4 separate regions of the Homo sapiens genome follow, and regions 1, 2 and 3 are each linked to region 4. The links are contacts of gene promoters, found by promoter capture Hi-C in human tissues and cell types (Jung and others, 2019). All regions are on one chromosome and are shown on one strand. Each heading gives the region's core, a stretch centred on a gene start or on the middle of the fragment in contact. The rest is flanking DNA. Distances are from core to core; before and after follow the strand shown.

Region 1 (7,112 bases), core at 4,405-6,904, 830 kb after region 4:
GACAAGAGCAAAACTCCATCTGCAAAAAAGAAAAGAAAACAAAACAAAACAAAAATCAGATCTTGTGATAAATCACTATCACAAGAACAGCATGGTGAAAACCGCCCCCATAATCCAGTCACTTCCCTCCCTCAACATGTGGGGATTACAGTTTAAGATGAGATTTGGGTGGTGACACAGAGCCAAACCATATCAGGTCCCCTTCACCTTCCTCCATGAGTGGAATCAGCCTGAAGCCCTCACCAGATTCAGATGTTGTGACATGCATCTTGTACAGCATGCAGAGCTGTGAGACAAATAAATCTCTTTTCTTTATAAATTACCCAGCCTCAGGTACTCCCTTATAGCAACACAAATTCACTAAGACATTGTGTCAGATTTTAACGTATACTGATGAATAAAACAAGCAATGTTGTGAGGTTCATGATAAGAGAAATACATGGCATATACTTTAGAAAAAAATATTATGGAAAGCCTGTCAAAGTGCCTCTACCTGTTATCTGAATCACATGATGGAGTGAATTCCCCATGCCTGTTTGCCTGAATTAGTTCAGATAAGCAGGAGTTGGTTATGTTCTATCAAATTCTGTGAGGTATGAATGGAAAAAAGGAATTTAGAATGGTTTTTCATGTTGGTGTGACCTTGTTTACTGTGTTCCTCCTTGGATTCAAAGTCTACCCAATAAGTAATATCAGTAAATATATCGGTAAAGTATATTGAAGCACTAGCTGTGGACTTTTTTTTGTTTATTTATTTTAAGATTTTTGATAATCATCCTAAATCTATTCTTATGCAAGAGTCTTAAAGTAGAAAGTTTCTCTGTTTTTTCTTCCTTCCTAAACTCCTTCAATGTGATTGACAACTGGCTCCATGAACGTGGGGCATTGTACCTACCAACTGTAATTTTTCCATCAGTGGAAATCTTGCAAGTCTTTGACAGACAGAGTAGAATGCAGAGGTTGTGGATAGTAGTGAATTTCCCAAGGCCCTGATAGTTTTAGGGTGATTTTTGTTTCTCAAGATTCTTTTAGCCAAATTGTAAAGCCATTCTTGTAATCAACTGAATTTCCCCTTTGATATTATCCCCAAGGAAGAGTAACTACATTAGTGTTAAGACCAGAGAATCACAGGGCATATCCTATAGTCTCTCATAGTATGTCCTATTACTGGCTCTCTGAGAAAGGGAGACAGGTTGGTTTTAATATCGCATCAGTATGTACAGTATTTTTTATTAAATACTGGCCAAGTATAAGTCACTTTTAGGCCATAAGAGGGATATAGAGGTATAAGAAGAGAAACTCACAGAGTAGTTGAGGAGATGAGATACCCACAGACCACATAGATACTTATATAAGAAAATGTGTGCAGAATTTTGACTCAGCATTCCAGGCTACAGTGCTCACAGAGTTCAACCAGTGGGGACTGTGGAGGGCATGGAAGGTTCTTAATGGAAATTGTTAGTCTTTTTTTTTTTTTTTTAGACAGAGTCTCGCTCTGTTGCTAGGCTGGAATGCAGTGGTGTGATCTTTGCTCACTGCAACGTCCGCCTCCCGGGTTCAAGTGATTCTCCTGCCTCAGCCTCCCGAGTAGCTGGGACTATAGGCACACGCCACCACGCCCAGCTAATTTTTATATTTTTAGTAGAGACGGGGTTTCACCATGTTGGCCAGGATGGTCTCCATCTCTTGACCTTGTGATCTGCCCACCTCAGCCTCCCAAAGTGCTAGGTATGAGCTACCACGCCCGGCAGGAAATTGTTGGTCATTTAATCTATTTTAACCACCCAAGGGGTTCCTTGGTGCCCTCTGCATAAACAAAGACCATGGCATTGTAATAGACGGAGTTTAATAGACACCAGGCCAGGCATGCCATGTGGGAGATGAAGTTCATACTCAAATCATCTTGTCCAGAATTCATAGGATTGGCGTTTTTCAGACAGTTTGGGGTAAAGGGGTAAAGGTGATCAGGTAACAGACACTTGCCGCTGATTGGTTGGGGCAAAGATGAAATCATAGGGGGTTGAATCGGTCCTCCTATGCACTGAATCAATTCAGGGTGGGGCCACAGGAGTGGGGTTGGCGAGTCCAGGTGGAGCCATGGGTGTCAGACATGCAAAAAACCTGGAAAGATATCTCAAAAGGCCAACCTACAATAGTTGTGTTATTTGCAGGAGTAATTGGGGACATTGCACATCTTATAACCTCCAGAATAATGGCTGACAATCATTTATGCCTGCACCTTAGCAGGACTCAGGTTCTCCTCTGCATAGCCTGATAGGCTCCCACTAGCTTTACAAAAAGCACTTGAGTTTTGGGCAAGGCCTATTATTTAAACTATAGCTTAAATGTTTTCCAAAGTTAGCTTGGCCTAATAACTCAGGAATAACTAAGGGAAAGGCAAGATGTGGGGAAGGTTAGCTTAGCTTACTGTTATAATTTTTCTCACTGATACAGTTTTTGCAAACATGGTTTCTCTATGAAGGATAAATGCAATCTGGATTATAGTAGAAGCAGGAGATGTTGAAATTCTAAGGAGAATGGAGCTGGGACAATGGAATGCGAAGGTTTGGACAATAATATACCAAGTATGTCTTTGTTGGGCGAGAACGTCTGTTGAGGTTTGGTATTTGAGTCTGAGAATTGAAATGACAATAGACCAATCAACAGGAGAAAAGGTACATAAATTTACTACAGGCATGGGGCATCACAAGAGACAGAGTGCCCAATAACCCCGTGAGATTCGAAGCTTATATGCCCTTCTCCATGGGAGAGAGTAGTGGGGGTCTGCAGGCACTTTTAGAGGAAAAAGTAAATGATGTTTAGGAGAGAAGAATGGGCATCAAGAACAGATGATGTCCTGGGACGAAGTCTGTCTGGGCTCTGAGTGTGCTGTGTACTCTAGTCTTCATTTCTGCAAGTTAATCTTCCCTGTTTGATGAGATTATAGAGAGGTGATGCAAGACAATTGCATTCCTTCTAGAGGAACTTCCCTTAGTCAGATGAGGGAACTTCAGAAAAAGCCGCCCTCTGTGCTTGGCAAGAGGTAGAGGGGTGAGAGAGGGTGGGCAGAAGAAGGTCAGACTCTGGTTCTGAGACTGCTTCTTTAGTTCAAAATACTCAGCATATCAACACCCCCACACTTTGAGGTATCTCTTCCGAGCCCGTGTCTTTGCGGGTGGGAGGTTGGGGAGGATCCAGTCTGGGCTTGGGAGTTGGTGGCATCCTTTTTTATAGCTGCTCCAGGAGCACCCAACCTGGGTGTGTTTACTGAAGTTGTACGCATGCTCCTTTGAGCCATTTTCGACTTCACCATTTTGCCCCTTAGTTCACTTTCTTAAGCCCATTCACCCAACTCCTGAGATCTTTTCAGGAAGCTGCTGATAACCAGTTTCAGGTATTTCTATCTATTGGTAGGCTGCCTTTCCCTGGAGCCCCCTGGGACCAATTATTATTTTAGCGAGGCAGTGTAATAACTGCCTGACCATCACCTGATGGTTGCCTGACATTCCTGGTGGGGTAGGGGTGGGTCTCTCCTGCCCTGCTGATGTCTGACTGCCTACCTACTGTAACACCCTAACTAAAAGTTGAGTTAACTCTGAAATCAAGCAACACCAAGCAGAAAGCAGAGAGGGAAACTTGTCCCTTTCAAAACAGATTAAATGTTTCTTATTAATTCAGTTGCTTCCACACATATTCAAGTTTGTATCCAGAATTAAGCGAGTCAGTAGTTTTAAATCAAATTACAAATACAGCATCCTTCATATCTGAAATAATTGTGTATCTGTATGTAAATGCTGGGAGAATATACTTTTTTGGATATTATTCTGACTGTAGTTTCAAAAAAAAGTAGATAGAAATCTGGAAAAATGAGTAAACACTATTAATTAGATGAGATATTTATCCTTGGCTTAAATTAGAAAACTTACTAAGAGAAACTATGAAAATATCAATTAAAACAACTAGCATGATTTTATTTTTCACTGTTAAGAGGGCAAAAAAAAAAAAAACCCCAAAAATCCCATGCATGAATAAAATAAATATATATTTGGGGATGACACCATCTTGGCATTTCCAGGCATTCTTTTCTAAACATATTCTTTATCTGAGCTGTCTTGCAATACTTTTAATATAATTAAAAGCACATAATGAGTGCCAGACTTGTCAATTTCAACAACAAAGTGCTGAAATTTGCAGTGAAACTGAGAGATCCATCTCCCATACATTGTAATGAATAGGTTCATAAAAGGAAAATAGTTTAATTACATTTTAGTTCATGGATTGTTAATAGGCTGGAGTATCTAAATTGAATAATGTGATTCTGGTAATAATTATGTGTAAATGAACTTGTTTAAATGATATTTTACAGCTTCTTTATAAAATTACAGCTAGAGGCAATCCAGTGATAGACAGACAAAGGCCATGCAAAAATTATCATAAACTATTAGCTTGTTTGCAAAGGGTTTTATGTTAATCTTTTAGTACTTAAAGCAATCTGCAATTAACATATCATGGGGAGCTGCCTCCGAGCAAAGGCATGCAAATTGAAGTGCTTAGATAAAAAGCCATTCATGTTGTGGGGGAAAGAGAAAGAAAGAAAAAAGAAAAAGAAAAAAAAATCAAAGAAAGGGTGGCAAAGTACTCAGAGGGTGCTGGTTTTTATATTTGAGATTAAGGAGGTGTAATGATTGTGTTATCTAACTATGGCTGTAATTAAAGCTTTTCTCCAGCAGACATGACAATAGATACTGCATTGATTTCGGTGTTTTAATTGTGAAAGTCATTTTATTTCAGGGCAGAAGATATGAATAGCCTGAATCAAAGGGCTAGAAGATTGCTTTGTTGATAGTACTTGTTCAACAGCTGCCTGGCTGCTTAATACACAAGTGTGGAGAATGCAGAGAGACCCAAGGAGGTGCTGGGTATTGTGATTCTCCTGCTGGTTTCCTTTCCTTTTATGAAAAAGGCAAGGATCTTGGTGCTGACTGTAAACAAACAGCCTTTTCATACCTCATCGATGTTTTTCCTCCCCAACTTTGCAGAACAAAAGAAGTCATAAAGGGCCTTGAACTAACTTTACTACTGCTCCTTTTAAGCTACAGAAGTTTATGCAAAGTAATAAAAACCATCTTTGCTAGTGGAGATATCACCCCTCTAATGATGAAAAAAAGTCTCTGAGTGACTGTGGTAGTTATTATCACAAATAGCCTTGTGACAGAAACAGTTTGTAGGAGAGAGGTTGGATTATTTACATTAAGGGCATATCCACAAAATCTCACACACAGTTAGTTTGAGATTAGTGCTTTCTTATCAGTTTCTATATACAAACCACAGGAGGGAAATTAAGTGAGGGGAAAACATATACAATCCCAGAGCAAAGAGAATTCTAAAGAGAATTTTAGGGAGATCAGGGTAGACTTAAAATAAAAATCACATTCTTGGCTATTTCTTCTATAACACTTCAGTGTAAATGGAGGTGAAACCCAGTGATTTCCAGTAATTCCTATTCTATTGATTTATCTCTTCTTTGTTCCTAGAAATATCAAATAGCATGTTTAAAGGAGTCTGAATAATAATAAACTTGGTTTTAGGGAACACTGTTTCTTTAAGTGATATGATTTAAAATAACCAGACACCAAGATATTACAAACATAACAATAATAACATAATCATTTACTGAGTGTTGTGCTATTTTTATTTATATTTCTGATGATATAAGGGAGTGAAAATTTTCCCTCTGCCCTCTGAGAGTTTGATAATTGAATCTATGGAATAAATGGACATTAGACCAATTAATAGGAGAAAGGACACATAAATTTATTACATGCATAGGAGCATCATATAAAACAAAGGTGAACACCCAGTGAGATCTAGAAGTTTTTATACCCTCTTCATAGGGGAGAAGAGAGGGGGAATGCAGACAACTTAGGGAAGGTACAAGCATACCTTGGAGATATTGAAATCTCAATTCTAGACTGATGCAGGATTTTCTTCTTGGTCACCGTGCAAGCTGGAGACCTCTGGCCAGCGATGCCCTACCCTGGCCTTGCTCGACCACACTAGCTGCTGCAGGAGATGGCCTCTACCTGCTGTAGGAGACGGCCTAAGTCTGGCTTACACACTGGTTCCCGAGTTCTTGTCTTGCACCCAAGAAAAATAAGGATGTACTGACAATGGAAGAGTGAGCCAGATGGGGAGTTTTATTGGTGATGAAACAGCTTTCAGTGGAGAGGGGACACAGGGGTGGTCCCCCTACCCAAAGGTGGGAAAGTCCCCTGTGTGTCTGGGCCTGGGGCCTTTTATGGACTCAGAATGGGGAGTGTGTGCTGATTGGTTTGGGGGTATGCAAAAAAGTTTAAACCAAAGACACCACTCAAAGGTGGGCATGACAGTGAAGAAAACCAATTACGAAAGGGTAGGTATATGTAAAATAGGTGAAAGGTGGGGACAGTCAGAGAAAAGTGCGCCAAATGGGAAGACAAGTTCTCAGTCTGGTCCAAGAATTTAACTTGTAGCTTGGCTTTCAGGCTTCAAACTGTAATCAGCTTGGAGGTGGGATTTCACCGGGGACCCCCACTGTCTGCCTAGGCATTTGGCTGCCTCCTTTCACTATCAAGACTGCCCCAATAAAACAAAAATTGCAATAAAGCAAGTAACATGAATGTTTGGTTTTCCCAGTGTGTATAAAAGCTATACAATACTGTAGTCTGTGAGGTGTATGATAACATTATGTCTAAATAAACAATATACATACCTTAATTTTAAAATACTTTATTGTTAAAAATGCTAATAACTATCTGCATTTTCAGTTAGTTACCATCTTTTTGCTGGTGAAGGGTATTGTTTCAGAGTTGCTGGCTGCTGACTGATCAGGGAGGTTGTTGCTGAAGGTTGGGATGGCTGTGACAATTTCTTAAAAGAAGACAACAATGAGGTTTGCCACATTGATTGACTCACGAAAGATTTCTCTGTAGCATGTGATGCTGTGTGATAGCATTTTACTCACATTAGAACTTCTTTTAAAATTAGAGTAAATCCTCTCAAACCCTGCCTATGCTTTATCATCTAAGTTTAGTAATATTCTAAATCCTTTGTGGTCATTTCAAGAATGTTCA
Region 2 (7,034 bases), core at 1,130-3,629, 880 kb after region 4:
ATAATATTATAAATGAGAGAAATAAAATGATAAGGAATTGCTGACCAAATACAGTAACACTAAATTGCAGTGATTAAGAGCATGAACTTAGAGTTTGACCAATTATAGCTGTATGACCTTGGACAAGTTACTTAACCTTTCTAGGTCACATCTGTGATTTGGAGATAATAAGAATATTTGCCTCCTAAGGCTGTTGATAACGAATGTAAAGTGTTTATAGCAGTGCCTGGAACATAATACAGGCAAAAATGTTATCTGTTATCATCATCATCATCATTATTCTTTTATGAATTCTTCCTTGAAGCTTCACAAGGCAAGTACAGGACAAATGAAAAGAAATAAAGTTTACACAGCATGGGATAAGAATATGAGATTTACTATGCCAAAAGTGGTATAGACGGGCTAAGGATTAAAAACTAATAACAAATGCTTCTTTTTTTTTTTTTTTTTTTTTTTGAGATGGAGTTTCGCTCTTGTTGCCCAGGCTGGAGTGCAATGGCACGATCTTGGCTCACTGCAACCGCTGCCTCCCGGGTTCAAGCGATTCTCCTGCCTCAGCCTCCTGAGTAGCTGGGATTACAGGTGCCCACCACCATACCCAGCTAATTTTTTGTATTTTTAGTAGAGACAGGGTTTCACCATGTTGGCCAGTCTGGTCTTGAACTCCTGATCTCAGAATAAATGCTTCTTATAGGCATTGTTTTAAAATGTTACATGTGTTGTCTAATGTAATACTCATGACACTATGAGGTAGTCCCATTTTATAGACAAGGAGACTGAGGCACTGAGAAGTGAAGTAACCAGCCTAAATTCCCATAACTCATAAAGGGTTGAGCTAAGATTTGAATCCAATCAACCTCTGCATTTAATGCCTATTTGTGAGTGAGTGTGTGTGGCAGAAAGGATCCAGAGTAGATGACTGGTGAAATTAGATGTTTAGGCAATGTCTTCACATTTAAGATCATTGTCAAGGAGAAAATTTTGAAATGTATTTTGTCATCAGAAATAATCCAGGGACACGTAGAGCCAAGGCCTGAGCCAGAGAAGAGGTATTTATACTTTGATTCAAGGAACATGAAATTAACCAGGAAAAACTGAAAAGCAATTTAATCCTTAGACTTTATAGGAGTAACCTTGTTGGGTTTGGTGGATGTGATGGAAAGAATGAAGGGCAGGTATTGAGCACAGCTAGGTATGATTCTCTTTTTGCCATCTTCCATTTTAGTGACCTTGAGCAAGCTGGTTCAGCTTGGGGTAGGGGATTTTGTATCCACAGTAGCAGAGTGAAGAATTATATGGAATCACTTTTTTGCACCCTTCAGATTCTAAAACACAAACGTTTTTGCATTGTCTACCCTGATACTGAAAATTATTGATACCCTTGATTTAACATTTATATTCTATCTTATTTTGTATTTTGCACATTGATCATTCATTTATTCAGCCCCTGTTTGTTTGGGGTATGCTTTGAGCTCACTGTGTGACTTTTTTCCTTAATTAAAATTAGTCTGGGAGAGAATGTATTTGCCTCCTGGAATTCTCAGAATTCTAGCAAGGTGCCCTAAACATCATAAGCACACATCAGCACTGTTCATATTGATTATCATGGTACAGTAGTGTATCAAATGCCACCTGAAGTTGAGTGCTGCAAATATGAGAAAACCTCCGTAAAATCAGCCCTCAATAACTTTTCTAGGGAATGTGCCTTAAAAAAAAAGGTACTGGACTGTGTGCTGAGAAAACTGTAAATATGAGTAAAATGATCCCTGCCTTCAGGAAGTTTACCAACAAGGGCACAAGCAACCATTGTAGAATTGCTTGTGGCCTTATTGATATACAGGCTAAGGATTAAAAAATTATAATCCCAGGGATGAAAAGCTTTAGCAGTTATTTAGTCCAACTCTCCACACACATTGAGTCCCCGTTACAACAGCCCACCAAATGGTTGTCTGGCATCTTCTTGAACACTTCAGTGGCTGTGAACTCAAACTGCTCATTCTGCTCGTGGTAGAATGACAGGCTCTCAATTTTTGTGTAGAAGGAAGTGTCTTGCTGAAGAGCAAAGGTCTTTTCTAGGCTGAGGAAAAGCCAAGGAGGTCATCTTGGAGATAAAAATCTGGAAAGTGGAAGTATATGGGAACAGACCTCAAAGGTCCTTTGTTGGAGCAAAGTTACAGAAGTACAAAAGCCAAGGCACGTGGTAGGAACATTAAGTAGTCTAGCTTGGTCATTTGGCAGTGACAGGTTGAGAATAGGGAACAGTGAAATTGTTAAAGATAGACTGGGACTATAATTTGGAGGACCTTGAGTGCCCTCTACTTCTGGGGTACATAACGGCCCTATTGAAAACCCTAATTCTATATCCAATAGGTGGCTCATTGAGTAAATCACTGTTAGCAGTCAGATCTGATGTGTTCCCCAAATCCACATCCTTTATACTCACCTGGACAACTACCATTCCCCCAACCCCCCCATCATCCATGAATTTTCTTCAGTTCAAAGAGACATGGTTAAAGCAGGAATTATGAAAAGGGCCCTCTGCCGGCCTTATTTCCATGTAGATCTATTTTATATGCATAATAACCCTAAGGGGAAGCTGTGTCAATCTGCCTTACCTGACAGACCCCTAAATCCTCCCAATGCTGCCTCCACTATTGGACATGTGCCAAGTGGCTTGCAACCTCAAAGAGAGAAAGCATCCTGATTTTTTGTGTGTAGGAAGGTGGGGGGCAGTGATAAACAGGTCTTGGCCTGTTATTGTCTTCCTGCATGATAATGAACCCATCACTAGCACAGGAATTTAATGCAATGATTTTTCCAAGAACCATCCAGCCCCATTGTAGCCCTGCCTGAAAATGTAAATACACCCTTTCTGGGGACAGATTTGCATTTTTTGGTGAAAGAAATGCATATATATGGCAAAGATGCCTCTGTAATTATAGAAAGTTTATTTCTGTCCCCAGATGTCAGCAATCAAATTCCACATAAATATATTTTGTGTAAATCTGTCGGCAGCTGGTCTCCATTCAGGTTTCTGGAGATATTAGCCTGTCTTTGAGTTTATGACAAAGTTAAAAATTATTCATTAAACTGACCTGCAGTATATTCAGTAACTGGAAAATTGCCTTGCAGTTCTATTTGGTTTGTAGATGTGATCACAAGTAAATTTTTAACTTAATTAATTGGCCGTTTCTGTTGACAAGAAATTTATGTGGTAATAATTTGCTCGAAATAGATGCCGACTGTAGGAAATGAGATATCCATCATAGGCTTGTGTTCCACCAGCTGCACAGTGGCTATTATGAAAGTATTTCAGCCTGCGTCGACCCCAGTGTTTGTGCAGTCAAGATTATATATACCCACGATCCATAGCCTGCCAGAGAGGCGCTGGTGGAGGTCTATGATAACAAAGACTTTGTGATTTATGGCTTGCTGTGAAAGCAGAGCTTGATGAGATTAAACAATTTCATAGCACAAGTGTTTCTCAAGACCTGATTTGTAGTTGCAAGCTGATGGTAAATCACATTTATATATCTGCAAGCGTGCTCAGCAGAGGACTGCAATTACAGTTTAAGACAGCTACTTTTTATTTAATTTTTATCCTGGTTTTGTCTCTTTTATATCCCCTTCGTCTGCAAACCATTCACCTTCACAAGTCCTTTCCTGGTTAGAAGGCCAAAGATTGAAGTCAATGATGTTCTTCGTGTCTTTGTGCCAGCTTCAGAGGGAGGTCCGGCAGATTTCAGAGCCGTGCAGACTGGTTCAAACTGGCTCTGACTGGTGTGAGCTCTTTGTTCAATTTCATGTCCAAACAGAAGTCTGTTTGCTATTTTCCCTTGGTGTGTTGCTGATACTTAAACTTCTTGGTATACAGAGGGAGAAAGAGGGGTCTTCATCATCCTGGGATATAGGGAACTGTGGAGCACATAATGGAAAAGGGAGATGAGGACTAAATTCACTTTAGAACCTCAACTTCAAGGTTGCAGCATATCTTAGGGTGTACAGTTAGCTCCCCTTTAATGGGAAATGTGAAATTGTGTTTCCCCACAGATCTGGGAGGAATAAACTCTGCAATGAGTTTATTTAACCAGTTTATTGATTATCTACTGTGGCCACATGTCTTCACTGAGTACTAGTACAGCAGTATTTGCCCTCAGGCAGTTTGTAATCTACATATGGTGCTAAAACATAAAAATAAGATTGGAAGCAGCAAGATCAGTGATAGCCTTACACGAGTGGTGCACCTGTTGTTGGAGGTCAGAAGGAAAGGGAGATAGAGTTCTTCCCACTGGGGAAGCATGAAGGAGCATGAATGAGACAAGTGCTTGAGGGACAGATCGGATTTCAAGTAAGGGGAAGAGGAAGTTCTGGAAATTTCAGTGATCTGTACTGAAGGAGGCCTCTAAAATACTCAGGTGTGAGTTCAAGTCCAGGCTGGGTGGCCAGTGATTGAATAATTATAATAATAACATAATAATAACATCGATTGAATGCTTACTATATACAACAAAGAGTGCTATATAGGTATTATCTCATTAATCCTCATAACAACCCCAGAAAGGGAGTATTATTGTGATCTCCATTTGGGGAACAGGAAATTGAGGTTCAGAGAGGTTAAGTAATTTGATCATGTTCATCCAGGTGTTTGGTTGAGCTGGTTCAACCAATACCCTGGTGTATTTCACCCCACAGCCTGTGTTCTTTGCCACTGTGTTTCACTGCTTTTCTTTTTCTTTTTAAATGGAGAGGAGGTCTCACTCTATTGCCCAGGCTGATCTTGAACTCCTTGGTTCAAGTGATCTGCCAGCCTCAGCCTCCCAAACAGTTGGGACTACAGGCATGCACCACCACCACACCTTTCTTGTTTTACTGCTGTTAGACAGAGAATATGAATGTAATTAGGGAGGCAATTCCACTGTTCTGCATCCTGGTCACATCTTCAAGAGCTCAGGTCATTTCTTTTTCCACGAAAGTACCTAAAGTTTGGGATGTTATTTTTGGTCTTTGTGATAGGCTGAATAACAATCATCCGAATATGTCCATGTCCTAATTCTTAGAAACTGGGATTACCTTATATGGCAAAAGGGACTTTGCAGGTGTGATTAAAAAATCATAAATTGTGGAGGTTATTCTGCATTATCCAGGTGGGCCTGAGGTAAGCACAACGGTTCCGAAGAGGACTCAGGGAAGTCAGAGTCAGGGGAGAAGGAGATGTGATGAAGCAAGCAGAGATTGGAGCAATGTGCTTTTGAAAATGGAGCCAGGGGTGCAAGACAGGGAACACAGGCAGCCACTAGGAGCTGGGAAAGGCAAGGAAACGTGTTCTCCCCTCACCTCAATTTTGCCTCTATAGGGCCTTTTTCAGACATCTGACCTCCAGAACTCTAAGACAATGAACTTGTGTTGTTTGAAGCTGCTAAGTTCATGTGAACTTGTTACAGCAGCACTGGGAAACTGATTCTGTCTTGCAAATTCCAACCAGCTTGACAGAGAGTTTAACCCTGATTTTGAAATCTTGGGTTTTTTTTGTATTATTTGTTTAAGATAGGGACTGATATGGTTTGACTGTGTCCCACCCAAATCTCATCTTGAATTGTGGCTCCCATAATCCCCAGGTGTTGTGGTAGGGACCCAGCGGGAGGTAATTGAATCTTGAGGGTGGATTTTTCCCATATTGTTCTCATGATAGTGAATAACTCTCATGAGATCTGCTGGTTTTATAAAGGGCAGTTCCCCTGCACATGCTTTCTTGCCTGCCACCATGTAAGACATGCCTTTGCTCCTCCTTCACCTTCCACCATGATTGTGAGGCCTCCCCATCCATGTGGAAATGTGAGTCCATCAAACCTCTTTTTCTTTATAAATTACCCAGTCTCAAGTATGTCTTTGTTAGCAGTATGAGAATAGATAATACAGGGATGCTTTTTGATTTCCATGTTTCCCCATTCTCCCCTCTTTTGTAGCCATAAGGGAAGTGATCATGTCTGTTTCATTCACTCATGAATCTCTGATGCCTAGTATGGTATATGGTATGCAGTAGGCACTCATTAAATATTTGTTAAATGAGTCAAGGAGATTACTTCATCCTATTTCCAGGATATAGTTGGCCAATCTGTCTGGAATTCAGTTTTTTCCACAACTCAACCAGCAAATGTCATAGCTTGCTCTTTATGAAGTCACAAAGGGAGTAGTCAGGCACTCTACTTACAGTTGTCTGCAAACTTGGATATCTCAGTGGAGGGAGGGGGCAGTAAGGCCTTAGGAAAGCCGAGGCTGGCTGAAGAATCTCTAATAAGTCAATGTGAGTGGCTAATTGTGCTAAATATTAAAAAAAAAAAAATAGATGTAACCCTTTATCCTGATAGCAGGAAGGTAGGAGGGTTTAATAAAAAGCATATTGTCTCTGAGACCCTCACATGTTTTCATGCCCGCATTGGCTTTTTGTCTTTTATGTGATAGGTAGGTAGGGAGTGTTTTCTACCTATGTATTATTCCAGGTTTTATGCCCCTGAGGGTCTTTTAGCTGGAGACTTATAGGCATAGTCCACTCCACTGAGTACAGATGTTAAAGTTGCCAATGAAGCTCTTTATGAGGGATGGAGACAGGCCAGTATCTTTGGCCTGGATTCTAGAGACCTGGTTTGAAAATCCTGGGAAAGCTGAGAGCTTCGTTTCTCCCTCTAGAGTACTAGTGTATTAGCCTCCCAATAAAAGTTAATTGAATTTAATTTTATGTTTTAAGTGTGATGCATTTTAAAGTTCTCCCCAGTGCTAGAGTCCCTCTTGAAAAGGCAGTAAATTCATATTATTAAACTACCAAATGTAATTCAGCTCAAATAAGCATATTCGGCAATCTTTATTCTGGATATGTGGGACTGACCTTGCGTTGAGGCTAAATCATTTCATCCCAGACAAAGTCTGTTTGGAGTTAATTGGGGAAGCAGTGTGGGTGTACAGCAGGTCACTCTGGGCTTTTTATTCTCTTTCTGGCCCTCATTCAAAGAGTCGCTGTAGCATACATTTTCTGATGCCAG
Region 3 (6,885 bases), core at 1,482-3,981, 700 kb after region 4:
AGGACAATTTGGTGGGTAGAACCCAGTGAGTCAGGAGTGCTGATTGGTCAGGTTGGAGATGAAATAATAGGGAGGTGAAGCTGTCCTCTTGCATTGAGTCAGTTCCTGGGTGAGGGCTACCAGATGAGCCAGTTTATCAATCTGGATGGTGCTAGCTGATTCATCAAGTGCAGGGTCTGCAAAATATCTCAAGCATTGATCTTAGGTTTTACGATAGTGATGTTATCCTGAGGAGCAATTTTGGGAGGGTCAGAATCTTGTGCCTTCCAGCTACATGACTCCTAAACCATAATTTCTAATCTTGTAGCTAATATGTTAGTCCTACCTACAAAGGCCATCTAGTCCCCAGGCAAGAAGGAGGTTTGTTTCAAGAAAGGTCTGTTATTGTCTTTGTTTTGAAGTTAAACTATTAATATAAACTAAGTTCCTCCCAAAGTTAATTTGACCTATGCCCAGGAATGAACAAGGACAGCCTGGAGGTTAGAAGCAAGAAGGAGTTGATTAGGTCAGATCTCTTTCACTATCTCAGCTATAATTTTGCAATGGCAGTTTCATTAATTTTTTTAATTTTCTTTTTTATTTTATTCATCTCTGCTTTGTCTGTCTTAATTTATTTGTTCTTTTGGCTTTGCATTTAATTTGCTTTTATTTTTCTACTTTCTTAAGGTAGAAACCTAGATTCTTGATATTCTTTACTAGTGTAAGCATTTTAGTGCTATAAATTTCCCTCTGAGCCCTGCTTTAGCTGCATCCCATGTATTTTGTTTTATTCAATTAAAATATATTTTCCACATTGCCTTATGACTTCCTTTTACCTGTGTTCTTTAGACTTTAATTTGTTAATTTCATATACTTGGCAATATTCCAGATATCTTTTTTGTATTCATTACTAGTTTAATTTTGTGTGGTTAAAAAGGAAATAAATAATAAATAAACCAATAGTAATAATAATAATTTTGTGTTGTTAGATAACACACTTTGTATTATTTAAATTCTGTTAAATTTATTGAGGTTTGTTTTATTGCCCAGAATACTGTCTGTTTTAGTGACTGTTTTGTTTGTATTTGAAAATAATATGTATTTTTACTGTTGTTTCATATGAGGCTTCATAATGTTAATTAGGTCAGGTTGGTTGATAGTGTTGTTCAGGTCTTCTATATCAGTGTCTACTTTATTGATTAGTGAGAGAGGAGTGATGAAGTCTCCAACTGTAATCATAGATTTTTCCCTTTTTTCTTTCAGTTTTATCATTTTTTGCTTTATGTATTTTGAAGATCTGTTGTTAAGTACATACACATTTAGGATTGTTATGTGTTCCTGATAAATGACCTCTTCATCATTATGTAATATTCTTCTTTATTTCTGGTAATGGTGTTGCAGAACTTTGCTCCTTAGTTCAGCTAAAACCAGGTTCTTGTCACATGATCAGGAAAAGTTAGGCACACAGACATATTGAAGGGTAAAGGGAATGTGGAATCTATTGGGCAAAAAGGAAAAAAGAAAAAAAACTCTCAGAAAGCAAGAGGGGTTCCTGCTAACAGGCCCCCATCTCACAGATTGATTTCAGGCCATACACAGGAACGGAAGAGGCCAGGCTCCTCCCCACCTCCACATGACACAAGCTTCCCGTGGCTTCAGCCCTTTCTCCCAGTGTGCAGGCAGGTCGGAGATTCCAGGGACCCTCTCCCTTATCTGCCTCCAACATCAATCAATGGCTTTTGCTTTATGGGTGGGTCTTGCTCATTGATGAGTCCTGCCTCAGCTGTAGGAGACCTCTGATAGTCCAGGTCTAGGATCACTTACTGTTCTTCTGCAGGGGTTGAAGTCTTTCATTCTTTAACATTTTCCTCAGATACAGTATGCCCCCAGCATGACAGTGTATGCTACCTCTTTCCCAGCAATTTAAAGCTTTTGTTCTTTTAAGGGACAAGTAATTTTGAAGAGCTCTCTGCCTTTCCATTAGTAGCATCTGCTCCCTCCTGTAGAATTGAGGGTAGCTTTCCCTGTACCCTAGTCCTGCCCCCACTCTTTCTCTGTGAGCACATAGAGAGGTCCTTGGAAAAGAGTGGCTGTGAACCCCTCTGTGTCTGCAGTTCCAGGGATTCTATTTTCTCATGCTAGTACATAGTTGGCCTTCAGCAATCTATTGAAAATTTTAGCTGAATTCTTCACATCCAGGCATCAGAGGCCCCATCTTCCTCCCACTGGTTCAGTTCCCTGCTGGGATCAAGAAAAGTAATAATTTTACAAATTATCCAGCTCTTTTTTTTTATTGCATGAGTGATATTCTCTCCAGCTTTTTATATTCAAAGAGGAAGCCAGAAGTCCTAATAATTCATTTTATTACAAAAGTATCTATTTATGAAGGATAGGAAATTTAATATAAACAAAAACTACTGATTGTTTAAGAAGTGCTAGTCTGTACCTTTATGAACTGATTTATATTTTCATTCTATGCCACATCTTGGTCTTATTAGGTCCTTGGGTTTGTTACCTGGTAGTAAGGCTGGCTTTTTGTTGTTAGTTCTAAATTTACATCTTTTGAACCAAAAGTTCTAGTATGGCAGAATTTGCTGACTATTCATGTATTCACCCTTATTATCCCCTTTTCCTTTTAAAAAATTTTATTGCCAGGCACAGTGGCTCATGCCTGTAATCCCAACACTTTGGGAGGCCAAGGCAGGCGGATCAGTTGAGGCCAGGAGTTTGAGAACAGCCTGACCAACATGGGGAAGCTCTGTCTCTATTAAAAACACAGAATTAGCCAGGCGTGGTGCCACACACATGTAATCCCAGCTACTTGGGAGGCTGAAGCAGGAGAATCACTTGAACCCGGGAGGCAGAGGTTGCAGTGAGCCTAGATCACACCGCTGTACTCCAGCCTGGGCAACGAGATTGAGACTCTGTCTCAAAAAAAAAATGTATTAAGATGAAATTCATATTGAACATTTAGAAGTGAACAATTCAGTGACATTTAGTACATTCGCAGGGTTGTGTGACTGCCCTTTCTATCTAGTTCTAAACATTTCCATTGTTCCAAAGTCAAGCTCGTAACCCACAAAGCAGTTTCTCCCATTTCCCACTCTTCCAGCCCTTGGGGAATAACAATCTGCATTTTGTCTCCATGGATTTATCTATTTCTTATAAATATTATAAATATGATTATGAAGTTTATATATTTCTTATAGAGTCTTACAATATGTGACTTTTTGTAAATGACTTCTTTCACTTAGCATAATGTTTTCAAGATTATCCACATCATAGCATGTATCAGTATTTCATTCCTTTTCATGACTGAATAATACTCCTTTGTATGGCTATATCACATTTTGTTTATCCATTCATCCTTTGATGGACGTTTGGGTGTTTCCATCTTTTCACTATTGTGAATAGTGCCACTATGAACATATTTTTATTGCATCTGTTTTTTTAACTTTTATTTTAGATGTGCAGGTTTTTTACATAGGTAAACCGCGTTGTTGTGGGGTTTGGTGTACAGATTGTTACCCAGGTAATAAGCACAATACCCTATGGGTATTTTTTCTGATCCTCTTCCTCTTCCCACCCTCTACCATTAAGTAGGCCCCATTGTTGTTCCCCTCTTAGTGTTTGCGAATTCTCATTGTTTAGCTCGCATTTATAAGTGAGAACCTGCAGTATTTGGCTTTCTGTTCGTGCATTAGTTTGCTTAGCATAATGGCCTCCAGCTCCATCCATGTTGCTGCAAAGGACATAATCTCATTTGTTTTAATGGCTGCATAGTATGCTATGGTATAAATGTACCATATTTGCTTTTTCCATTTAGGTCAGTTCCATGTCTTTTGTTTTTTTGTTTGTTTGTTTTGAGACAGGGTCTCACTCTGTCACCCAAGCTGTACTGCAGTGGCGCAATCATGGTTCACTGCAGCCTCAAACACCTGGGCTCAAGCTATTCTCCCACCTCAGCCTCCTGTGTAGCTGGGACTATAGGTGTGCACCACCATGCCTATCTATTTTTTAAAAATTTTTTGTAGAGATAGGGTCCTCTGTTGCCCAGGCTGGCCTTTAACTCTTGGGTTCAAGCAGTCCTCCCGCCTTGGCCTCCCAGATTGCTGGGATTAGATGTGAGCCACTGGCCTGAACATGTCCTGCTTGAGTACCTGTTTTCCATTCTTTAGGGTATATACCTGGGAGTGGAATTGCCGGGTCATGTGGTAATTCTACGTTTAATGTTTTAAGGAACCTACTATCTCCTTTGACTATAATTTTTGTCATATTGCTCTTTGAGTTTGTCTTCCCAGAGGGCCCTAACTTTTCATTATTGAAGTAAGACAGGCAAGGAAGTCATCTTTCTACTAGTTTCATGTAGGAACCTTTGTAGCTTCTCTAAAGAGGATGATTTTTTTGGGTCTCCTTTAAGACTTTCCTAGCAATTTCATAACCTTCTTGGATGGAAGATACAACATGGCAAAATGCAGTTGAGGATAAAGAGGTTGTTTTTAACAATAAGAGCCCTCTTGAAAAGTCATGAGTTTTGCATGACAAGAAGTGCTTCCAGTTGCCAGTGGGAGAGTTTCCTCATCATGCAGAGTGGATGACTCACTGCCCTTGACTGCTCTTCTGATCCCGGGGGCCTCTGTTCTCTCACAGTAGATGCAGCACACAGAGCTGCCAAGGCATTTCCAGCAGGGGGTTCTGTGCTCAGGTTTTGAACAAGGGCAGCATGATGGAGCCTGACTTACTCATACACTTCCTGAGGTTGATGAACACATTTTCACCCCTTTTAGTTGTGGTAGGTAATGTATTCATAAATTCAAGCCTTTTTCCCAGATTGTAATGGATAGTTTATATCTCTCTCATGATTATTTAATTATTCAAGCCAGGATGACTGTGTGTTTTCTATCAGAGTTTGGGCTGCCTCAGCAAGATGCAGACTGGTATCTGCCCTTAGGTTAAAAATTCCGGCCAGACATAGTGGCTCACGCCTGTAATCCCAGCACTTTGGGAGGCTGAGGCGGGTGGATCACGAGGTCAGGAGTTCAAGACCAGCCTGGCCAAGATGATGAAACCCTGCCTCTACTAAAAATACAAAAGTTAGCCAGGTGTGGTGGTGGGCGCCTGGAATCCCAGCTACTTGGGAGGCTGAGGCAGAGAATTGCTTGAACCTGGGAGGTGGAGGTTGCAGTGAATGGAGATCATGCCACTGCACTCCAGCCTGGGTGACAGAATGAGACTCTATCTAAAAAAAAAAAAAAAATTCCACACCATTCCCTTCTTCCAAGTATGGATGGAATTTCTTCCAGGATCTGCCAGCTTTTGTGTGTGTTTGTGTGTGTTGTGTTTGTTTGTGTGTGTTTGTTGAATGTCTGTCTACCACTAGAATGCAAGGCCCAAGCAGGGAAGGACCATGGCTCTTCTACCCTCTGCAGACTCTCCAGGGACGGCACTATGCTTGGGTGTGTGGCCTACTCCCTATTTGTCATCCCAGACCTATGTTTTACTCTTCTTTCCCTTGCTCTGTGTCCTGGGGTGATAATGCCTTCAACCACCAGGCTCCATTGCCCTCTGGCTTCTGGTTGGGTTTGGACAATGAGGGAGAGGTAGGGCTACTTCCCCTCCCATTGCCACCTGCAACTTTGTGGTTCTGGCTGTGTCCATCCAGGACTATAGCCTTTCATGCCAGGCTGCCCTCCCTGCAGCTCTGGGTCTCCCTGCAGCTCTAGGTCTCCCTGCAGCTCTGGGTCTCCCTGCAGCTCTGGGTCTCACCGTGTGTCTTGGCCACGGCTATCTGCTCTGGGTAGCTCTGGTGCTTCAGTGTCCCCGGGGTTCCTTTGATCTTGCCCACACCCCTGTAAAGAATTTGTTCTTTTAAAATCCCAGGTGAATATGCCTTCTCTTTCTTGCCAGGGTCATGACAATGGGCTGAATTTTTGAATAGATGAGTGGATGGATGAGAAGACGAAGGGCCGTGTTTGTGGCTCACCCCCCATATGGAACCCCCCTCTGGCTGCCATCTCACTGGGAGGCCTTGCCCTGTCTCATGTCCCTGCTGCCTTTCTCCTGCACTCCCCTTTCTCAATCTGTCCCAACCATACTGGCTCCATTGCTGTTTCTAGAATGTACAAAGCAAGCTCCTGCTCCAGGCCTTTGCTCTAGCCATTCTCTCTGCCTGCAAGTGTCTTCTCTCAGATATCCACTTGGCTAATTACCTTTTCTAGGTTTTGCTGAAATCTTACCTTTTCTATGAGCCTCACCCAAACCACTGTATTTAATAATGGAAACTGCCCTCCACCAATATCACCTTGGCAGCCAAGGGCCTCCTTCATCTTGGTCTGTGTTTCTTTTTTCCAGAACACTTACCACGTTTTAAGAAACTGCATTTGACTTATATATTTATTGACATAAATATTATGCTTAATATTTATCATCTGTCTCTACCTGCTAGAATTTAAACTCCAAAAGGCAGGATTTCGTTACCGTTTTTTTCCATGGGTATATTCCAGACTCCCAGAGCAATGCCATCTTCACAATAAGTGCCTGTGATAGGTTGAAGAGTGCCTTCCACCCCAGAAGATATGGTCCCCTGGAACCTGTGAATGTGGGCTTATTTGGGGGGTGGGGGGGAAGAGTCTTTACACATGTAATTAAGTTAAGAAGTCCAAAATGAAATCTTCCTATATTAGTGTAAGCCCTCGATTCTAGGAAAAGTTCTTTTAATAGAAGAGACAGGGAAACAGACACAGAGACACAGGGGAGAAGGCCAGGAGAAGACAGGCAGAGACTGGAGTTATGTAGCCCCAAGCCAAGACATGCCTGAAGCCACCAGCAACTGGAAGCGGCAAGGATGGATTCTCCCCTAGAGCCTTTGGAGGGAGTGTGGCCCTGCAGACTTCTTGATTTCAGAAA
Region 4 (7,146 bases), core at 3,291-5,790:
GGGGTGAGGGCGAGGGTTGCGGGGAGCGTTTAGAAGGCCCTGGGCAGCCAGAAGAAGAAAAGAGGACGCACTCTCCCCTAGGGACCAGAGGGTCCCTGCGTACTCCCCCCAGGCCCGGGACACAGGTTCCCCCAGCGCCCCTCCGCCTCCCAGTCTATTCGGCTTGCCCCAGCGCGCTGCCCCACGTCCCCGAGGCCCCGGCCCAGGCCCAGCCGGCGAGTCCCGGCCTGCTCCACTCTGCACAAAACGAAACCCAAATGCCCAAAAAGCTCAGGAGGGAAATTTAACAAAAACCCTGTCCCCCGCCCCACACCCCCTTTCACTTTTAACAAGCCAGCTGCCAAGAGAAAATTGAAATAAAAACGAAATGATAGATAGCGGAGGACACTATTTTCCAAATGGTGAAATATCCTCTAAAAATATGTTCCCCAAGGCCAACTTCGCGGCTGGTAGCCCCTTCCGACGCCTTTGCCTCCCAGAAAATCACAACAAAGCGATCGGAAATTCAGCCACGGTCCCGGGAAGAAGGAGTAGCAGTGAGGCCCCGGAACCCACTGCGGCCGAAACTGCCATGCTCTCTTTAACCAAAATAAAAAAGATAAGAAGAAGAAGTAAAACCCTTTAATACATCAAATATACGGAATTTTAATCTTTAAAGCGATACATTGTCTATTATTTTAGTACATGACGTAAACCTTGTCCCCTTCTCAGCGGGTGGACTTAAAAATTAAAAATAGTTAAGTGTTCCTTTTAAAGAACAAAATAAGGCAAATGAGGTTTTGGAATAGAATTTTTTCTTTTTCTTTTTTTTTTTGTTGTTTTCTTCCAGAATACATACAAAAAAATACCCATTCTCTTCGATGGTATACACCTTAAAAATAATTGCAATTTGAAATCAGAGCTGACAAATTGTGACTTTTTTTTTCATTTTTTTTGTAACAAACATGCATGTAAATTTGTGTTTCAATCAGACATTAAATAACGTACAATACAATCATAGCAATTTTAAAGTAACATTAAAGAGAAGACCTCTAGTTCTGTGGCGGTTTTGCTTTTATTTATAATCTACAAGGGATGGGAGGGTTTGTTTTCCACATTTTTACCCTCAAGTTTTAAAATTTTTCCCACCTCCTTTTTACCTACAGAGCTCAAACTAAATAATGCACTTTTGAACCACCGGTCCGCTTGGAGCTAACATAAATAAATACCAGTGTCCACCGATGCAGTCCTCAGATGAACACTTTCTCAATTATTTTTTCCTTTTTTTTTCTATAAAAAGTCAAATGATATTTTTTCAACTTTTATAAAGTTTGGGTGGGGAGGTGAAAGTGGGGAGAAGGGGAGTGTCCCACCGGGTCTCGGTCGCTGCTGTCGGGTAGATAGATACGGTATACATTTCTTTCCTTTCGTGGCCCGAGTCCTCCCCACGCGCGGGTGTCAGCAGCCTGGGCCGTGATCCCGCCTCTCCCTGGACTCCTCCCCTCCCCCTCTCCCTCCTCTCCCTCGCTCGCCCTCCCGGCCGCCCTCACTGATACCCCAGCGCCGAGGCGGTGGTCAGTCTCTGTCCGTAGAGGGCGTAGGGGGAGTAGTACGGTCCGGTGGCGGCGGGCACCGGCACGGGGGCGCCAGGCGTGGGAAGCGGGCTCTTGGAGTAGGGGTGGTAGCGGCTGCTGAGTCCCAGCGCGTGGTGGGGGCTGCGCAGCGCCAGCGTCCCAGGGCTGCCCGGTGCGCCCGAGGTGGGGATGTGCATGTGGCAAGCCATGGCGGCCGCGGCAGCGCTGGCCAGAGACGACGAGCTGGGGTAGCCCGACAGCAGTTTGTCTGTCCCGGGAAATGCCGTATGGGTCCGCAAGTGGCTCAGCAGCTCTTCGGACGTGGCGAAGCGCTTGTCGCACGGCCCGTTGGCCGACACCCAGTTGCAGATGTGGGGGAGTGGGTCGTTAGGGAGCATAAAGCCGTAGGGGTAGAGGGGGTGGCCGGCCAGGGAGGGCGGTGTGGCGCCAGCAGCCGCGGCGGCCGTTAGCGAGGAGTGCACACCGTGCAGCGGGTGCGTGGGGTACACCAGCGGGTATCCGGACTTCAGCGCCGCAGCCGCAGCAGCCGGATCATGTGCGCAAGAAGCGCTGGCGGCCGCCGCCCCTGCCAGGTGGCTAGCGCAGTGGTAGCTGAGGCAGTAAGGGTCCCGGCACAAACTGGCTGTCATCACGGACGGCGGAGACGCTCCGGCCAAAGGGCTGGAGCCGGCCGGCTTACTGCAGCCCAGAGACCCGGCCGCGGCCGCCGCCAGCTGCGCCCCCACCAGGCTGCCCGGCTTGGTGGGGTCAAGTGCCACGCCGTGTGGCAGGAACTGGGGCGGGTAGCCGGCGTAGGCCCCGGCCAGGCTGCCTGGGTAGGTCATACCCGCGGGAGGCAGAGGGAACACTGTCTGGCCCGGCTTGTAGGGTGACACGGGAGCCACCAGCCCAGAGCCCAACACTGAGGAGGAGGTGGGCGCGCTGGGGCCGGAGCCGGAGCTGGAGCCCGATGAACCGCCGCAGTCCGAGCCCAGAGCCTTGCCTCCCGGGCCCCCATCCGGATGCTGGTTCACATCCACATTAATCCCGCCGCCGCAGCTAATCCGGCCGTGTGCCAGCCCCGTGGGTCCCCCTTCGGCCGAGGCGCCCCCGGTGCCCTTGCCACCGCCGCCCACGTCGGTGTCTTTCTTGTCGTCCTTGCCCTCCGGGGCACCCCCGGCCGAGGACAGCATACCTCCCGGCGAGCAGGCCGAGGCGCTGGAGCTCGGGCTGCCTGTCCTGGGCGTGAATGGCTGGCAGGTGGCGCTCGGTACCCGGAATCCCGACTTCTCCGACGAAACACCCCCGCCGCCGCCCCCGCCACCGCCACCGCCTCCACCGCCGCCTCCCGGCTCCTTCTTATCCGAGCCGGGTTTGGAGTACGGCTTGAAACTCGACTTGTCCTCCACGCCGATGTCGCTCAGCTTCAGGGGGCCCGATTTGGTGTCCTTGTCGCCCGCAGCACCGCCGCCGGCACCGCCCGCGCCGCCCCCGTTGGAGGCAACCGAGGAGAGTTTGGAGGAGGGCGAGGGGTCGGGCTTCCCGATCTGCGAACATGTTTGCGCCAACAGCGCCAGCGGGCTCTTCTTGGCATCGAGCTGCGGGGTCAGACGATGGGGGGGGAGCGTCACACAGAGAAAGAAGTGGAAACCCTTTAGAATCCTGGCTTCTGGGGTTCAAATGCCTCTCCGCAACAGCCCACGAAGATCCTCCCAGCCCCAAGGCGCAATTCTAGGCGGCACCCCCTCTTCAACACCCACTCACAAACATTCTCGCCGTTGGGAAAGGCAGCAGATTGCTCCCCCCGCCCAACCACCACCCCCAGCAGCATCTTTCCTGCCCTCTCTGAGCGCTAACTAGATTTTTAAAGAGCAAAATGTTTTGGTTTTCGGTTCCTAGACCCAGAACTGTACCCCCTCCCCACAAACACTCCTTAATTCTTCAGAGTAAGGGCTCGGGCGGCTGGCGCCTCAGAGGCTGTGTGCACACACTGGCTTCTGCGGATACGAAGGACGGCGACTTTGGAACCGTATTTCAGACCTCCGCCTGCCTTCGGTGCCGAGTGAAGGGGCCTGGGTCGGGGTAGGGGCTTTCATATCGAAAGGAGAAACAAGTATTGGCAGCCTTGCTCCCTAGCATGCACGCCCCATTCCACTTCCTCCCCCTTTTCCGCCCTAGTTTTGAGGTACGGAAGCAGTAGCCTCTTCCCCCATTCGGGAGCTGAATCACTCCGACCCCCCCACCTCCGCCCAGATCCCGAGAAAAAGAAAGCCCTAGGGTGGCAGCCAGGGTAGTGGTCCCAGTGCGATCCAGAGAGAGGGTCCTTACCTCGATGGGGCTGACCGGCGTGGAAGGCAGGGGCTGCAGGTACTCGGGGTGCAAAATGTGGCCAGTTCGTGCCGTCAGCATCTTCAGCACCTTGATTGGCAGGCGGTTGGCCTGGCGCAGGGGGTCAGAGGGGGGCACGGCGTGCACAAAAGGCTTGGTGCTGCCGGCCGGGGACGAGCCTGGGCCGGGGCCGGAGCTATTTCCAGAGAGCGCGCTGGTCCAGGCAGGGTCTGCACCGCCGCCTCCGCCTCCGCCGCCGCCGCCGCCGCTGTGCTTACTGCTTCTTAGGGCAGAAAGCGAGGGCGCTGTGCTCATGACCCACCCGCGCGCATGGGAGCAGCGGGGGGGAGGGCTCCGGGAGGCGCGGGGCGGGCTCGGGGCTGCGCGCTCGCCCCGGGAGCAGGAGCAGCGGGAGGAGGAGGAGCTGGCGCGGCGGCCACGGGCGCCCAGCGCGCCTTCTCGGCGCCTGGAGCCAGACGCGAGTAATCCTGGGTGGCCCGCAGCGGAGCCGTGGCCGGGCTAGAGGAGCCGGCTGGACTGCGGGAGTGCCGGGCGGCTCGCGGTGTCCGCCTCGGGCTGCTCCCCTGCGCTGCGTTCTCGCGGCCCCGCGCCGGCGCTGCGCTCTGCGATGCGAGCCGCTGCGTGTCCAGCCGGGGCTCTGGCGAGGAAACTCACTTCAAAAGCAGCTGCACCAAGGGGGAGATTAAAGCCTTTGCCGCCTTCCAATCAAATGGGAGCCCGAGGTGATTGGAGGGTCAAGGGGATGTGACGCGTCCCGCGCCGCCGCCGCCGCCGCTGCCAGGACTCTCAGTGCCGGTTTTAATGGGCAGCTCCCTCTTCGCCGCCCCCCTGTGTGTCCCCTCCCTCGATTTCGCTGGGAGGACGAGATGGACATTTATTCTACGTTTGCCATCCGCCGCCTCCCTCTTTTTTCCTCCTCGTCGTTCTTCCTTTCCCCAGCTCGAAAATAAACTGAAACCTTCTTTTGAAGGGGGGTGCGCGTGAGGAACAGACTGCGGGGGGTGTCCAGAAGGAGCACCGGTGGGAGTGTGGACACCGGCCGGACTGTCAACTCCAGGGGCGAAGGGAACCTGCACACCCAGTGTTTTTTCCTTCGCAGTAATCGAGATCCCGCGCGGCGCAGCGCAGCCACCAGGGTAAGAAGGCAAGGTGGGGAGCCGGAGCTGGAAGAAGCCCGCCCGCCCGCTCTAATTTCCTCAGATTCCGCGGCGGAGAAACCAGAAGCTAGATGGGCAGTCGCAGCGGCGGCGGCTCAACACCGCGAGGAGCGCTGGGCTCTCCGCCCTTCCCGGCCACGTGACGCCCGGGGACGCGTAGATTGGGGCAGCAGCGGGGGTCACATGTTTCCTCTGTTTCACCCTCAGTCTGTCCCCCAACCCCCCATTCTTACTCTCCCACCCTGTTTTCCTCCCTCCCCCCCTTCTTTGGGCATCTCCACCCCTCCATCAATTGTCAATGTTCCTCGACCGCAATCAATCAGTTATTTGTCAGCTCTTGTCAATCCTCCCGTGATTTATGTCAGCTTTTGTTGCTGATTACAAGGCGGGTGCGACTTGAAGGGAAAAAGAGAGAGGGAGAGAGAGACGGAGAGGAAGGAGGAGATTGAGAGGGAACTGGAGGAGGGGAAAAGAGGAGCGGCCTCCTGGGATGGGGGTGGGGTGGGGGCTCTAAGAAAAAGAATGAAAGAGGCGCACGGTGTCAGGAAAATGAATAGCGAGAGTAAAGTGCGCAGGTGCGCCCAGGGCGCCGAGAGGGGCGCGCAGGCCTGGAGTGTGCGCCTGCCCTCTCGGTGTCGGAGAGACGCCCTTCCACCTCTGGGAGCCTCGGTCTGTTGGGGTCGCGGAGTTCGGGCGCGGCTCCGGGTACCCGAGACCAGCGGCGGCAACTTCTAACACGGGAGATTTCCCGCCACCCCACCCCGCCGCCGCGAGTCCTCGCGGGGCGTGTTGCGTGCGGAGGTCAGGCTGCCACCCTCTGTAGTTCCCTAACCCCAAACTCGGAGACTTCTAAGAGCCACACCACCAAGGAACTTCTAGTCCTGGAGGTCAATGGTGGGGCAAACCTCGCCTCAATTCTTTGACCCCCTCGGGTCGTAAGCAGGGCTAAGAGGCTGCGAAGAAGAGGCCTGGCCATGGGTGTATGGGGGAAGAAACATCTCAGGCTCACTCATGCCCCCTCCCCGACCTTCTCCCACCTGCCGCCATCCCCGCAGGCTGGGGAGCCAGGGTAACTCGGGGCTGCTCTCTCGAATTTATTGGAACGCCGAGTCGGAATGAGCTGCGCTAGGAGAGCCGAGGGAAGGAGCGAGAGAGGGAGGGGGCGGCTGCCTGTGGGAACGCGGGTTCTTCCAGGGAAGCGGAGCGGGACTGCCGCGTTCCCCTCGATTTGCACCGTCACTCGGGTTGTTTGGGAAGAAAAGGGGAGGCGCTGTGCGTGCCACCGGGTACCTGGACCTGGATGCCCAGTGTGTATGCATGCCTGTGGCGCTGCGTGAGTTATCGGGGCTCTGATAGCGTCCGGAGCGGGTTCGAGGGTCTCCTCCAGGAACTCGCAGAAATTAGAGGGGGTGGGGAGGAGGACACACCCCCTTCCTCGGAACGACTTAGAAGACTTTGAATCTCCCCTCCTCCGCTTTTCCGCCCCGGCTCTTCTTTTGTTGTCAAGTCCTTTTGATAAATGGTGGGGCTGGGAGCTCTGGGAGTCGGGAGCCAGTCTGTGCCCGCGTGGGGGGCGGGGGCCGAGCCTGGAGACCCGGTTTCGACCGGCGCGCACCTGGGGCTGAGCCGGGTGCGCGCGGGGGTCGGGTCTGGAACTGCCCTTGGTATGCTCGCCCTCTCCTCTTGGCCCATCTCACTCCCCTCCCCCACCTGACTCCCCTCCCCGGCTTCTTTCTCTGTCTCCCACTCCGCACGGGTACCGAGAACTTTCCGGGGTGAGTTTTAGAATTTGCTCCTAGGCATTCTTTTTCTGCGTTTGGATTTTATCCCTTGATTCTTTGGGTTGGTAAACTTTATGAAATGGTAACTTGACTGAAGCTCATTTGGAGAGAAGAGGGGAGTGAGGCGGTGTGTGCTTGGGGCTGGTGTTTGTCAGTGTGAGCGTGTAAGAGCACACCTGCATTCAAGGGGGTTTGTAGTGTCCGTGCGACATCTGAGGGAGGTGAGTCGGCGAGCGGGTGGCGAGGCCCCACGCTGAGGGAGGCGGTTGTCTGGTCTCCGGGGAGCAAGTCCCAGGTGCGCGTTTC

Evidence for each region. The method cuts DNA at HindIII sites, captures the fragments that hold promoters and counts their contacts. A contact is called where the count stands out against the background at its distance.
Region 1: a contact is called between a fragment that was not itself captured here and the fragment with the promoter of ZNF503 in region 4, in 1 of the 25 tissues and cell types used here (mesenchymal stem cells).
Region 2: a contact is called between a fragment that was not itself captured here and the fragment with the promoter of ZNF503 in region 4, in 1 of the 25 tissues and cell types used here (H1 embryonic stem cells).
Region 3: a fragment that was not itself captured here is called in contact with the fragment with the promoter of ZNF503 in region 4 in 1 of the 25 tissues and cell types used here (mesendoderm cells).

Annotation. Positions count from the first base shown.
Region 1 is chr10:76,226,562-76,233,673 of GRCh38, forward strand. All of the region lies in intron 5 of LRMDA (leucine rich melanocyte differentiation associated), which reads left to right. Among named protein-coding and RNA genes, the nearest start is that of KCNMA1-AS1, 660 kb to the right of the region's middle. RefSeq lists enhancers at 4,098-4,817, 4,818-5,535. The HindIII fragment of the contact is 3,847 bases long and covers 3,732-7,112 here.
Region 2 is chr10:76,279,107-76,286,140 of GRCh38, forward strand. The region is part of intron 5 of LRMDA (leucine rich melanocyte differentiation associated); the gene reads left to right. LOC124902462 (a long non-coding RNA gene) reads right to left here. Exons shown (of 3, transcript XR_007062203.1): 3 at 1-7,034. Among named protein-coding and RNA genes, the nearest start is that of KCNMA1-AS1, 610 kb to the right of the region's middle. The HindIII fragment of the contact is 4,657 bases long and covers 52-4,708 here.
Region 3 is chr10:76,098,827-76,105,711 of GRCh38, forward strand. The region is part of intron 5 of LRMDA (leucine rich melanocyte differentiation associated); the gene reads left to right. Among named protein-coding and RNA genes, the nearest start is that of MIR606, 550 kb to the left of the region's middle. RefSeq lists an enhancer at 4,185-4,884. The HindIII fragment of the contact is 5,744 bases long and covers 1-5,603 here.
Region 4 is chr10:75,397,224-75,404,369 of GRCh38, forward strand. ZNF503 (zinc finger protein 503) reads right to left here and starts at 4,541. Exons shown (of 2, transcript NM_032772.6): 1 at 3,882-4,541; 2 at 607-3,151. The coding sequence starts at 4,196. The coding sequence ends at 1,526. ZNF503-AS2 (ZNF503 antisense RNA 2) reads left to right here and starts at 4,305. Exons shown (of 2, transcript NR_024421.1): 1 at 4,305-5,038. LOC124902461 reads left to right here. Exons shown (of 1, transcript XM_047426122.1): 1 at 1-1,034. RefSeq lists an enhancer at 3,543-4,043. The HindIII fragment of the contact is 17,931 bases long and covers 1-7,146 here.